2 separate regions of the Homo sapiens genome follow, and region 1 is linked to region 2. Evidence: promoter capture Hi-C in human tissues and cell types (Jung and others, 2019). All regions are on one chromosome and are shown on one strand. Each heading gives the region's core, a stretch centred on a gene start or on the middle of the fragment in contact. The rest is flanking DNA. Distances are from core to core; before and after follow the strand shown.

Region 1 (5,724 bases), core at 944-3,443, 1.2 Mb before region 2:
TTATTTAGTTGAGCTACCCAAATCCATTAGACAAATTTCCTTTACAGCAAAGCATTGATGAATGAAATGTCTCATGCTAATGTAAGAATAATCAATTTAGAATGCTTATGACAATTAACAAAGCTGAAGATATGCCTTGAAGGCTCCATGCTTTGTCAGCCCTGATTTGGATTAAACTTGTGCTAATGGGATCATTTTTCTTCCAAAAGGTATTCTTTTTAGGCAGACCTATCAATTAATATGAATTATGCATGTATAAAAGTACTAATGTCATTAATTAGACAAATTAATTTTTATGATGCAGTGGATAGACTAACACTAGATTATATGTGATAACTTCCCCCACGGCACCCACCGATTTGAAATAAATGAATAGTTTATATTTGTGTGCTTTCCATAGACTCAATCGGGATTAATCAGGCTCGTCTCTGGGCGGGAGATGGTTGAGATGCTGCATATTCTTGATGGTCTTCTCAGCCAGGGGGGTCATTTCAGAGACAATAGAGCCCAAATTGCAACAGAGAGAAACTTTAGAATAATGCTACGCAGGGTCATGGGGGAAGTTAGTAAATTGTAAGCATTTGTGCTGGCAAGCTTTAATTGACTCTTTTCCCCAAATTTACATGCTGTTGTCCAAGTAGACTAAAAAATACAAATAAATATCAGAAAAAAAAGAGTAGGGGGGAAAAAGCATTTTGCAATTGTTGCATTGACAGACATAACTCATTAATGTTGGTCAAATTTGATTGGCACAATATTTATCTTCTAACTGGGTCTAATTTGTAATTTTTTAATCCAGTACGAGCTAGGTTAATTTTCAAATTCATGGAAACATTGACTTTTTTTCAAGCCTAATAAGTTACCTAAAGTGTAAGAGGATGAGGACCATGTGTTAAACTACCTGGTTAAGCTAACTGTTATGTTTTCAATGTTTGTGTCTCTCCACAAGTCATGTGGAAACTTAATCCCAAATGCAATAGGATTAAGAGGTAGGGATGTTTGCAGTTGATTAGATCATAAGGAATTCTCCTTTGTAAATGGGTTTCATGGCCTTATAAATGAGGCTTCACATAGCATTCATAATTTTTGCCCTTCCATCTGCTGCCATGTGAGAACACAGAAACAAGGCATCATCTTGGAAGCAGAAGCGAGCCTTCACCAGACACCAGATATGCTGCACCTTGATCTTGGATTTCCCAGCCTCTAGAACTATGAGAAATGAACTTGTGTGGCTTAAAAAATTACTGTTTACAATATTTTGTTATAGTAGTCTGAATAAACTAAGATATTAGTCATCACCTTTCTCATCCATTTTGCAATAAGGCTTATGATTCCAACAAAATGACCACCATGAGGAAAGTAAGCCCACAATGCTTTTACCCCTTTTATTGCTTTTTACTCTTCAATTCTTTTTTCATGGAAACTTGATACATGAACCTTAGGTTTTCCAACAGGGATAATTGATGACTTTAACAACATATCCTAAAGTCAAACCAATGTATCCCATCACAGCAAGGCTGGTAGGAGTTACAGCAAGCTGAAATAACCTAGGTAATGTCCAAAAGTCAGGCAGGAGAGGTCAAAAGTGATCTCTTGCCCAAGGTTCATACAGCTTCTGCCTGGATCATGGTAAATGCTCAATCAATGTGAGTTAGAAAAAAATAAGTAGAGGTATTCACTTAGCTAAGAATTTGACATGGGTTCACAAAACATATATCACAGAGACACTGAAAACATTTACTCTGTATTCTCAGCATTCTTCGTTGCATTCCACGATGGTATGGCATGGTCATAAAAAGCAAACTCTTTGAGGACAGAGAGTCCTGGATTCAAATCATAGGGTTTTCCACATTCTGGCTAAGTAACACTGGGGGTTCCATGTTGCCTTCCTCACTGAGAAGCCATAAAGCTTCAGTGAGATGGTGGTATCTGCATCTTTACTGCTTGCAGCAAGGCATGAAAGATAATAGGGACTTCTTAGACTAAATGTTGCCTTTGTCCATAATTAAATACCTCCCTGGGCAAATATACTGATGAGTAGTAGAATGGACTTAAGCCTCACAAGGAGATAGGGCATGGTATCACATTCTCCATTCAGTTCTGACTATAAGTTCATCTTTTTACAGTAAGAGGTAGGTAGGGGAGGAGATAATGGAGTGAGTAAATTAATGGATTTAAATCTCACTCCTACCATGTACCAGCAGTGTAACCTCAGGTAACCTCTCGAAGCTTTCTTTTTTGGTCTTTAAGATAAACATAATGATAGGGTAAATCTTAAATAATAGGATTAAATAAATTAAAACTCTCAAAGTGCTTAAAACAAGAACTAGCACATAGTTTGCAAGCAATTGATAAATACGAATAAAATTTATTTGACATCTATTGTGTTCTAAATAATTTAAAGATACGACCTAATTTAAGCTACACTACCTTCTTGAGAGGTTACTGTGAATAACCCCATTTTACAGATGAGAAGATTGAGGCTTAGAGTGATCATCTTGCTCAAGGTCACCCAACTAATAAGTGAAAGAGGAAGGATTTGAACATGGGTTGCCTGAGAATTTATTTAATCAGACTGGGGAGTGCTGTGAGAATAAAGTCTAGAAGTTAGAAAGAGGAACCTCTTCATTTTGAGAAACCTATGACTCATGGAAAAGAGAGAGGGTGCTGGCCATGAAGGTAGAATACTAGGTGGGTTGGGTGACAGTGATAGCTACTCTGGCCAACAGTTAGGCACACCTACTTGGAGTAGCTATTATTAATGGGGCAGATACTAGTATCTTCATTTTATTGATTTGGTTAACTGGTTTATCTTAGAAAATAAAGTTGGCACACAAATACTAGTCTGTCTTATTTCTCAGCCTGTATTATAAACCTCTACACTATAAGGTTTAAAGATTTCTGAATACACAATGATGTAGCAATTGGGAATGCCTCATCTTCCAGTCACCTGTCTCTTCCCCTTATTCTTGTCTTGTTATCTGTGATCACTAAGACTCTACAAGCACCCCTCACTAGTTTCCGGAGGAGGAGAAAAGTTTATAGAAGCCAATCCTATAGCTGTGAAAGGAAGCAATCTAGTCTAGACCAGCAAAGTGATGGTGGGTTATGACCAAGGAGAGTTTCATTTTATAATATCTATCAAAAAGATTTTCTTTCTGGGGTGTCATGCAATGATCTAAATCAGATTTACAAACCTCTGTATAATCTATGATGTCAAACACATCTTTTAGCAGGTTGAGTTTCTAGAGCAGGTAACTGTATTTATCAGTCTAGTTATGGTCCTCATTCAGAGATGGATGGTCATGTTACTCAAGACAGGCCAATGATACTACATCCTGGGCTTTTGTTGAAATGGAAAGTATGAGCTATAAGGCTGATGTAAGCTTGGAGCTTTGAGAGGACCAGCATTTTAAGGGGTTCAGCCTGAGAATGAAGCCAGTACATGGGAAAGCAGAACCAAGAGATGGGGCAAGAGATATTGAATCCTAATGGCGTCATGTGAACACTGGGATATATCCTTCTCTGAAGCCAGATAACCTAAACTTTTCAGTTATGTGAACAAAAATCTCCATATTTGTTTACATTTGTTTGTCAAGTTTTTGTTACTTGCATCTGAGAGATCAGAATAATACAGAAAAGAAAATAATAAAATCCAACAATATCAATGATTTCTAATAGGAGAGTCTGATATTCACTCAAATTCACTAATTCCCTAAAACATTCCTAGAGACTTGTCATTTGAATGAAGCTACCTAAAATTACGGTGGGAGGTTTTTTTTTTTCCTTTTTTTTTTTTGACAGTTACATTTCAGCACATGAAATTCTCGGCTACCAGATTACTTTAGACACAAGTTTATAAAAGTGCCTATTTTATAAATATTTCTTGAAGTCCTTTTTGGTTGTTGTTACAAAGGAGATTGCATAACTTGTTAATTAAGTGTGAACGAGGGTTTCCTGGGAGAGTGAAATGACCACTGATCTATATGGTTCAGTCACAGTGGACTTAATATTCAAAGGAAATGGTCATTTAGAACCAGCATTCACTTGTTCATCTACATTTCTTTCTTCCTTGGTATCTACAATTTAGTCACCAGCCAAATCTTCAATAGTCTCCATTTTTATTCTGAATATAAAAAGTTTCCCATGATGCTTAATATTGAGCAAACTTGTTCTATTGATTACTTGAGCGAATCATTGATAAGATCAGCAATTTTCCCTTTAGTCATTCACTATATCTTGTGTAAACAAGTGAGTATTGAGTGGTGCATTTGCTCCTCTCCTCACCATCCTGAGGGCATTGCCAATGGCATGAAGACATGGGACCAGTTCTAAAGCCGTGGAAGATTGGGGCCAGAAAGGCCCTGTAGATGCAATGTTTTCCCAAAACATTTTCCATTCTCTGATCATTTTTGTTTTCCTGAAAACTTCAAAAATAAGGCTGTGGTTAAGATTGTAGTCTTTGGAATTTGACTACCTGATGCATATCATTGCTTTATCACTTCTTAGCTGCAGGCAAGTTACTTAATCCTCGATTTATCTGTACAAAGGAGATAGTGCCGAGTCAGCAAGTTCATTTGACAAAATTATTGAATATCAACTATCGACTGACAAATGAAACCAGGCACCTTTCCAGGTGCTTTGAGACACAAAGAGCAAAATAGACGAAATTCTCTGTTTTCATGAAGCATATATATATATATATATATATATATATATATATATATATTTTAGAGACAGGGTCTCACTCTGTCACCCAGGCTAGAGTGCAGTGGTAGAATCATAGCTCACTGCAACATCGACCTTCTGGGCCTAAGTTCTCCTCCCGCCTCAGCCTCCTGAGTATCTGGAACTACAGGTGTGCACCACCACGCTTGACTAATATTTGATTTGATTTGATTTTTTTGTAAAGATGAGGTATCACTTTGTTGCCCAGTCTGGTCTCAAACTCCTGGGCTCAAGTGATCTTTTTCCCACCTTAGCCTCCCAAATTGCTGGGATTACAGGCATGAGCCACCATGCTCGGCCATGAAGCCAATATTCAAGTCTGTCTTGGCATGATGTTGGGGGAGATTCAATGAGATAATGCCAGTAAAATGCTTAGTACTGCACCTGGCAAATAGTAAATGCTCAAGAATAATGCTAGCTTATGTCGTCAAAAAATGCAGCTAGTATTAGCATTTGCTAAAGTATTATTGTTGCATCACTGATATTATGGGGACATGATTGTCCCACCTGATTCTGCCTACTCCCAAATCCAAGACTACATCTTTTAAGAAGAGGGCCCAAACCTAAATGTTAGACGTTTTTACCAGGGTCTCTTTGTGCCCCTTGAAGACTTAATGATGGGGCCCCTCCCTTTATTGACTCACCAGAGTGAAAGCTTATTTCCCCCAAAATATCCCCCTGGTCATTTACACTCTGAAAAAGGAGCAGTTTACTACAAGATGAATACAATAACAGAATTGTATTCTCTTGTTTTATAAGGGAAGAGTTACATTAACTCAACAGTGCTTGGCCTCCTTGTTGGCTATAGGGAATCATAGGGCTTTGAGGACACCACGTGAGGCTCAGCTTTCACTGTCTTTTTTCTCTGAGACAGCACTTGCCAGCTAGACATTCTCTGTGCAAAATCCAGGGGTCTCTATACTGTACAAGTTGGTAACATGGCAAGTCAACTAAGGTTCTTTGGTTGCAAGCATTAGAAACCAACTCCAACATATA
Region 2 (5,467 bases), core at 321-2,820:
CGTCCTGGGGGAGCAGAGTGGGGGCCGGGGGGAGGGGGAAAGGAGGATTGCAGGCCTAACTTTCACAAATCACCTGAAATTTCCACTGAAGGCATTATCTCCAAATGTTGCCACAGAGATAAACTGCCAGGATTACAAGAAAACGTGAAGACGTTCCCATAGAACTCTGTAATGCTTATATCCATCACCAGGAATGTCTGCCCTTGGCGCCCTAAACATAGATTGATTGATTGATTGATTGATTGATTTTGAGGCAGAGTCTCACTCTGTCACCCAGGCTGGAGTGCAGTGGTGCGATCTCAGCTCACTGCAACCTCCTCCTTCCGGGTTCAAGGGATTCTCCCACCTCAGCCTTGGAGTAGTTGGGATTACAGGCTCCTGCCACCACGCCCGGCTAATTTTTGTATTTTTTGTAGAGACTGGGTTTTGCCATGTTGGCTAGGCTGGTCTCAAACTCCTGACCTCAAGCGATCCTCTTGCCTCAGCCTTCCAAAGTGCTGGGATTACAGGCGTGAGCTACGGTGCCTGGCCCTAAATATAGATATTTTTAATAAATCCTCTACTTATCTCACAACGAGCTCAATCGCTTTGCATTAGATCGTTGGGTGTGTTAAAAGTATTCATGTGTTACATTAAATGTGAATTCAACAAAAGCAGAGATTTTTGTGTTTTGTTCTTCATTGTATCCCTTGATTGTAGAAAAGTGGCACATAGTAGGTGCTCAGTTAATCGTTGTTAAATGAAGACATAAATGAAATATAAACCATTAAATGTCCACCATATTTGTAAGCGTTTTGGCATGTCTTCATTGAAAGAATACCAGGCAGCTGGGAGCCATAGTTTACTCCGGTAATCCCAGTGCTTTGGGAGGCTGCAGGTGAGAGGATCGCTTGAGACCAGGAGTTCAAGAGCCACCAGGGCAACATAGAGAGACCTTGTCTCTACAAAAACAAAACAAAACAAAACAAAAAACAAAAAACACAATTCCCTTAAGCCGCCCCTTCCCCTTCCACTGCTCAGAGAAGGCCTTCCAGCAGAGCAGAGCACGAGGTCGCTGGCACACACCCATCCTCCACCAGTCCTGGCCTCTGTAGAGCAAGCCAGCAGAGCAGGCTGTTTCTCTCATTCAGGGACGGTTTAGGGGGTGGCAGGAAAAAATGGTTGCTGATAGGCGAAGGGCCTCCCTGGGTTGGAGAGAACCCCAGCCTCGGATGGTCCCAGCACATTTAAAAGAGAAGCAGTGCCAAAGGTGGGGTGCACTGAAAGCTGCTGGATGAAGGGAAAGATCCTTGTGCTCAGCCCGGAAAACCGGAGGATGGATACCAGGCCGAGGGGTCCCTCCGTGCCCCAAGAGAAAGTTCACCAAGTTTAGATCCCAGTGCCCCGCAGCGGGTGAAGGTGGTCCCGCCCCAGGCCGGATCTGGCCACAGGGCTGGCGGCGCGCTGGAAAACCGCCCACGTGGGAAGAAGCCCTGGCTGCATTTCCGCCCTGGACTGCGCTCCCGCCTGCCAGCGCGGTCCCTGCGCAGCCGCCCCGCGCCCACTAGGTGGCGCCTGCGCTCTAGTGGGCGCTTCACAGGCGCAGCGACAGCGACAGCGACAGCTCGAACCTGAGTCCCAGGATTCCGGGGACTGGAGGGCAGCGCCGGCAGCCAAGGTAGGATTCCTGAGCCCCGGGCGTCTCCCTGGAGCCTCTGAGGTCGGGGTGGACAGCGGGGCGGCCGCTGGGCACCGCTTGCGGTCTGCAGAGATAACCGGAGGAGTCGGGGCGGCAGCACGTGTTGTAGCCGTGGGGGGGACCCAGAGACCCGCAGCCTCGGAGCTGGGCCTAGAGCAAGGCAGAGCACCAGGTCGCTGGCACGCTCGCATCCTCCCCAGCCCTCGCCTCCCAGAGCATGCCCGAATCCCCAAGCCGGGCGTCCTCGAAGCGGAAAGCAGCCACTGTCGCCCAGAGCCACTCCAGGGTGGCAGCCGAGTGCTGATAAGGTCCAGAGCACCACTTCTTAAACTTGTCTGCCCGTTGGCGTTGCTTGGGAAGCATTAAAAAAATACCGATGCCCTAGTTCCACCCCCGCCCCCCCCCAGAGACTCAGATGTGATTGGTCTGGGTGGGGGACTGGACATCTGGGTATTAAAATGTTTGCAAGAGATTCCAGCTGGCAGCCAAATTTGAGGACCCTTGATCTAAGGAGTTGGAGAAAAACGGAGGACATTTGTTTGTTCTAACCCAGAATGCTGATGATTCCCTCCTCCTCCTATTCCTCCAGTTCGCCCTCCTCCTCCTTTCTCATGTGCCTTTTAAGCAGGAAATGCCTCTGCCTTTGTACTGTCAAACCCAAGATAACAAACTAACCATCCCCCACCCCCCACAGTAGGGCTGGTTCTGAAAGGGTTGAACTCGAAAGTGGACAAGGAACAGAAAGACACCAGTGTGGAATGTGAGCGAAGACTCTTAGGGGTTTATGGGTAGGAAGGGGGTTCCTCCCCACCCTGATCCCAGAGAAGATCAGGAGACTGGCTGGAGCTGTCTTCCTCATTTTGGCAAACCTAGCTGATTAGGCAGTGAGAGGCCTTATAACGAGCCTTTTTTACAACTAGTAAAAGGGCCCTTTTACAACTAGTAAAAATGAGCCCTTATGTTTGTTTGTTTTATAGAGATAGGGCCTCACTATATTCCCCAGGATGGTCTCAAACTCCTAGGCTCAAGCCATTCTCCAGCCTCGGCCTCCCAAAGTGCTGGGATTATAGGCATGAGCCGCTGCGCCCCGCTGACCCCTTATGTTTATATAACAGCAGTGTTACTAACATGGGCATAGATTCCCCCCCATAGGCAGCCCTTCCTTTGTGACCTTGGAAACTCACTGAACCATCCTCAGCTTCAGTTTTTGTATCTGCAAAATGGGTGTGAAAATCGGGTTGCCTTGGGAATTATTCACAATAAAAGCTACTGTTTACTAAGGGTTCACCCTATGCTAGAGGCTTTCTGTGCAGGGCCAAGTTAGACTCCTGACCATAACTTCCACGGTAGAACTATGAATACTGCATTTGATAGCCAAGGAAACTGAGGCTCAGAGAGGCCAATGATCTTGCTCGAAGTTATATAATTAATTAATAAGAAGCATGTCCCATATTTGAACCCAGGCAGTCTGCTCTTGAGCTCAGGTGCAAAAGAACAATACTCTGCTGTTTCCCTTGTTGACCAGGACAGCGTGCACGGGGCAGGCGCGTGGTGTGTCTTCACAAACACTAGCTATCACTGCTGTGAGCTGAGCACTTCCACTGAATTGACTCATTCGCTCATTGGAAATACATTTATTATTGAGAGCCTACTGTGGGCCAGGCAGTTTTCCAGATGCTAGAGATAAAATATGAGTAAGACAGAATTCAGCCAGCCCCGAATGAGAGAAACAGGAAGAAAGTGCAGTAGATTCTCATTATTCACAAGTTCTAAATTTGCAAATTCTTCCCTGTAATCCCAGCACTTTGAGAGGCTGAGGCAGGAGGATCGCTTGAGGCTAGGAGTTTCAGATCAGCCTGTGCAACAGAGCAAGGCCCTGTTTGCTTAAAAATTATACACATTGAATAATTCTTAAAAAAAATTTGTTTGTGGCCAGGCATGGTGGCTCATGCATATAATCCCAGTACTTTGGGAAGCTGAGGCAGAAAGATTACTTGAGGCTAGGAGTTCCAGATCAGCCTGGGTAACACAGTAAGACCCTATATCTTTATTTTAAAAATTATATAATTAAAGAATTTTTAAAAAAATATGTTTGTGGCCGGGTGTGGTGGCTCACACCTGTAATCCCAGCACTTTGGGAGACTGAGGTGTGAGGTTAGGAGTTTGAATTTAGGAGTTTGACACCAGCCTAATCACTTGAGCTAAGGAGTTTGAGACCAGCCTGGACAGCATAGAGAGACCTTGGCTCATTTAAAAAAAAAAAGAGGAAAAAAGGCCGGGTGCAGTGGCTCATGCCTGTAATCCCAGCACTTTGGGAGGCCGAGGTGGGTGGATACCTGAGGTCAAGAGTTCGAGACCAGCCTGGCCAACATGGCAAAACCCCGTCTCTACTAAAAATTCAAAAAATTAGCTGGGCGTGGTGGCAAGAGCCCGTAATCCCAGCTGCTTGGGAGGCTGAGGCAGGAGAATTGCTTGAACCTGGGAGGTGGAAGTTGCAGTGAGCCAAGATCACGCCATTGTACTCCAGCCTGGGCAACAACAGCGAAACTCCATCTCAAAAAAAAAAAAGAAAGAAAAAAGAAAAATAATGTCTGCGTAACTTCCAAATCAATATCCATGACACTTTCACAGTCATATATGGATGCACGTAGAATAGTGAAAAAGTTGAGTCACCCAACGTGCACATTTCCAGCCAAGGGCAAACAGGAGGACACGCTGCTTTCTGGTTTCAGCTCTTGTGCTATAAACAAGTGTCCCTTTTGTGGTGTACTTAGTGCCACATTTTTTGCATGTTTGTGTGTTTTTGTTTGTGATGTCGCTGTTTGAAATGGCCCCAAGTGTACAGTTGACGTGCTGTCTAGTGTTCCTAAGTATGAGAAGGCTGCGATGTGCCTTACAGAGAAAGCTTGTCTGTTAGGTAAGCTTCGTTCAGGCATGAGTTATAGTGCAGTTGGCTGAGTTCAGTGTTAATGAATAATATGTATATATATCAACAATATATATCAAATAAGGTGTCTTTTGTCTTTGTTTTTGTTTTTTTGAGATGGAGTCTCACTCTGTCTCCCAGGCTGGAGTGCAGTGGCACGATGTCAGCTCACTGCAGTCTCCACCTCTGGAGTTCAAGCGATTCTCCTGCCTCAGCCTCCCATGTAGCTGGTACTACAGGCACATGCCACCACGCCCAGCTAATTTTTGTATTTTTAGTAGAGACGAGGTTTCACCATGTTGCCCAGGCTGGTCTCGAGCTCCCGACCTCAGGTGATCACCCACTTTGGCCTCCAAAGTGCTAGGATTACAGGCTCAAGCCACAGCACCTGGCCTATAAGGTATCTTTAAACAGAAACACACATAAACAAAGGTTATGCATTGATCTGCCAGGCAGAAGGTGGGGTTAGAAAAAGATGTTTCTGGCAGAAAGGTCAGCATGTACAGAGATAGCCAAGAGCTTGGCAAGGCCAGGGGACTCAAGGAGAGCCAGTGGGCAGGGAGTGTGGTGGTGAAAGGGAGAGAGGCTGGGGCCAGGCGGCTCAGTGTCTTGTGGGCAGCTCTCATTTCATCCGATTAGCACGGTAATCCTGGCAGGTTGGACAGGATCATTTCCGCCTTTGAGAGATGATGAAATTGACGTTCCATGCTGTTAAATGACTTGCCCAAAGTTGCACTGCTGGTAAGCAGCAACACCCCCCACCCTCCAACTTAATCTAATGTTGACCAGACATTTGGGTTTTTTGTTTTGTTTTGTTTTGTTGGTTTTTGGTTTCTTTTGTTGTTGTTTTTAAGACACAGGGT

What was found. Contacts are between HindIII fragments. The study calls those that stand out against the background at their distance.
Region 1: a contact is called between a fragment that was not itself captured here and the fragment with the promoter of CHD9 in region 2, in 1 of the 25 tissues and cell types used here (mesendoderm cells).

What each region holds. Positions count from the first base shown.
Region 1 is chr16:51,900,973-51,906,696 of GRCh38, forward strand. No RefSeq gene overlaps it. Among named protein-coding and RNA genes, the nearest start is that of LINC01571, 140 kb to the left of the region's middle. The HindIII fragment of the contact is 4,381 bases long and covers 4-4,384 here.
Region 2 is chr16:53,053,421-53,058,887 of GRCh38, forward strand. CHD9 (chromodomain helicase DNA binding protein 9) reads left to right here and starts at 1,571. Exons shown (of 39, transcript NM_001308319.2): 1 at 1,571-1,657. RefSeq lists enhancers at 1,865-2,396, 1,909-1,958, 4,609-4,658. The HindIII fragment of the contact is 13,928 bases long and covers 1-5,467 here.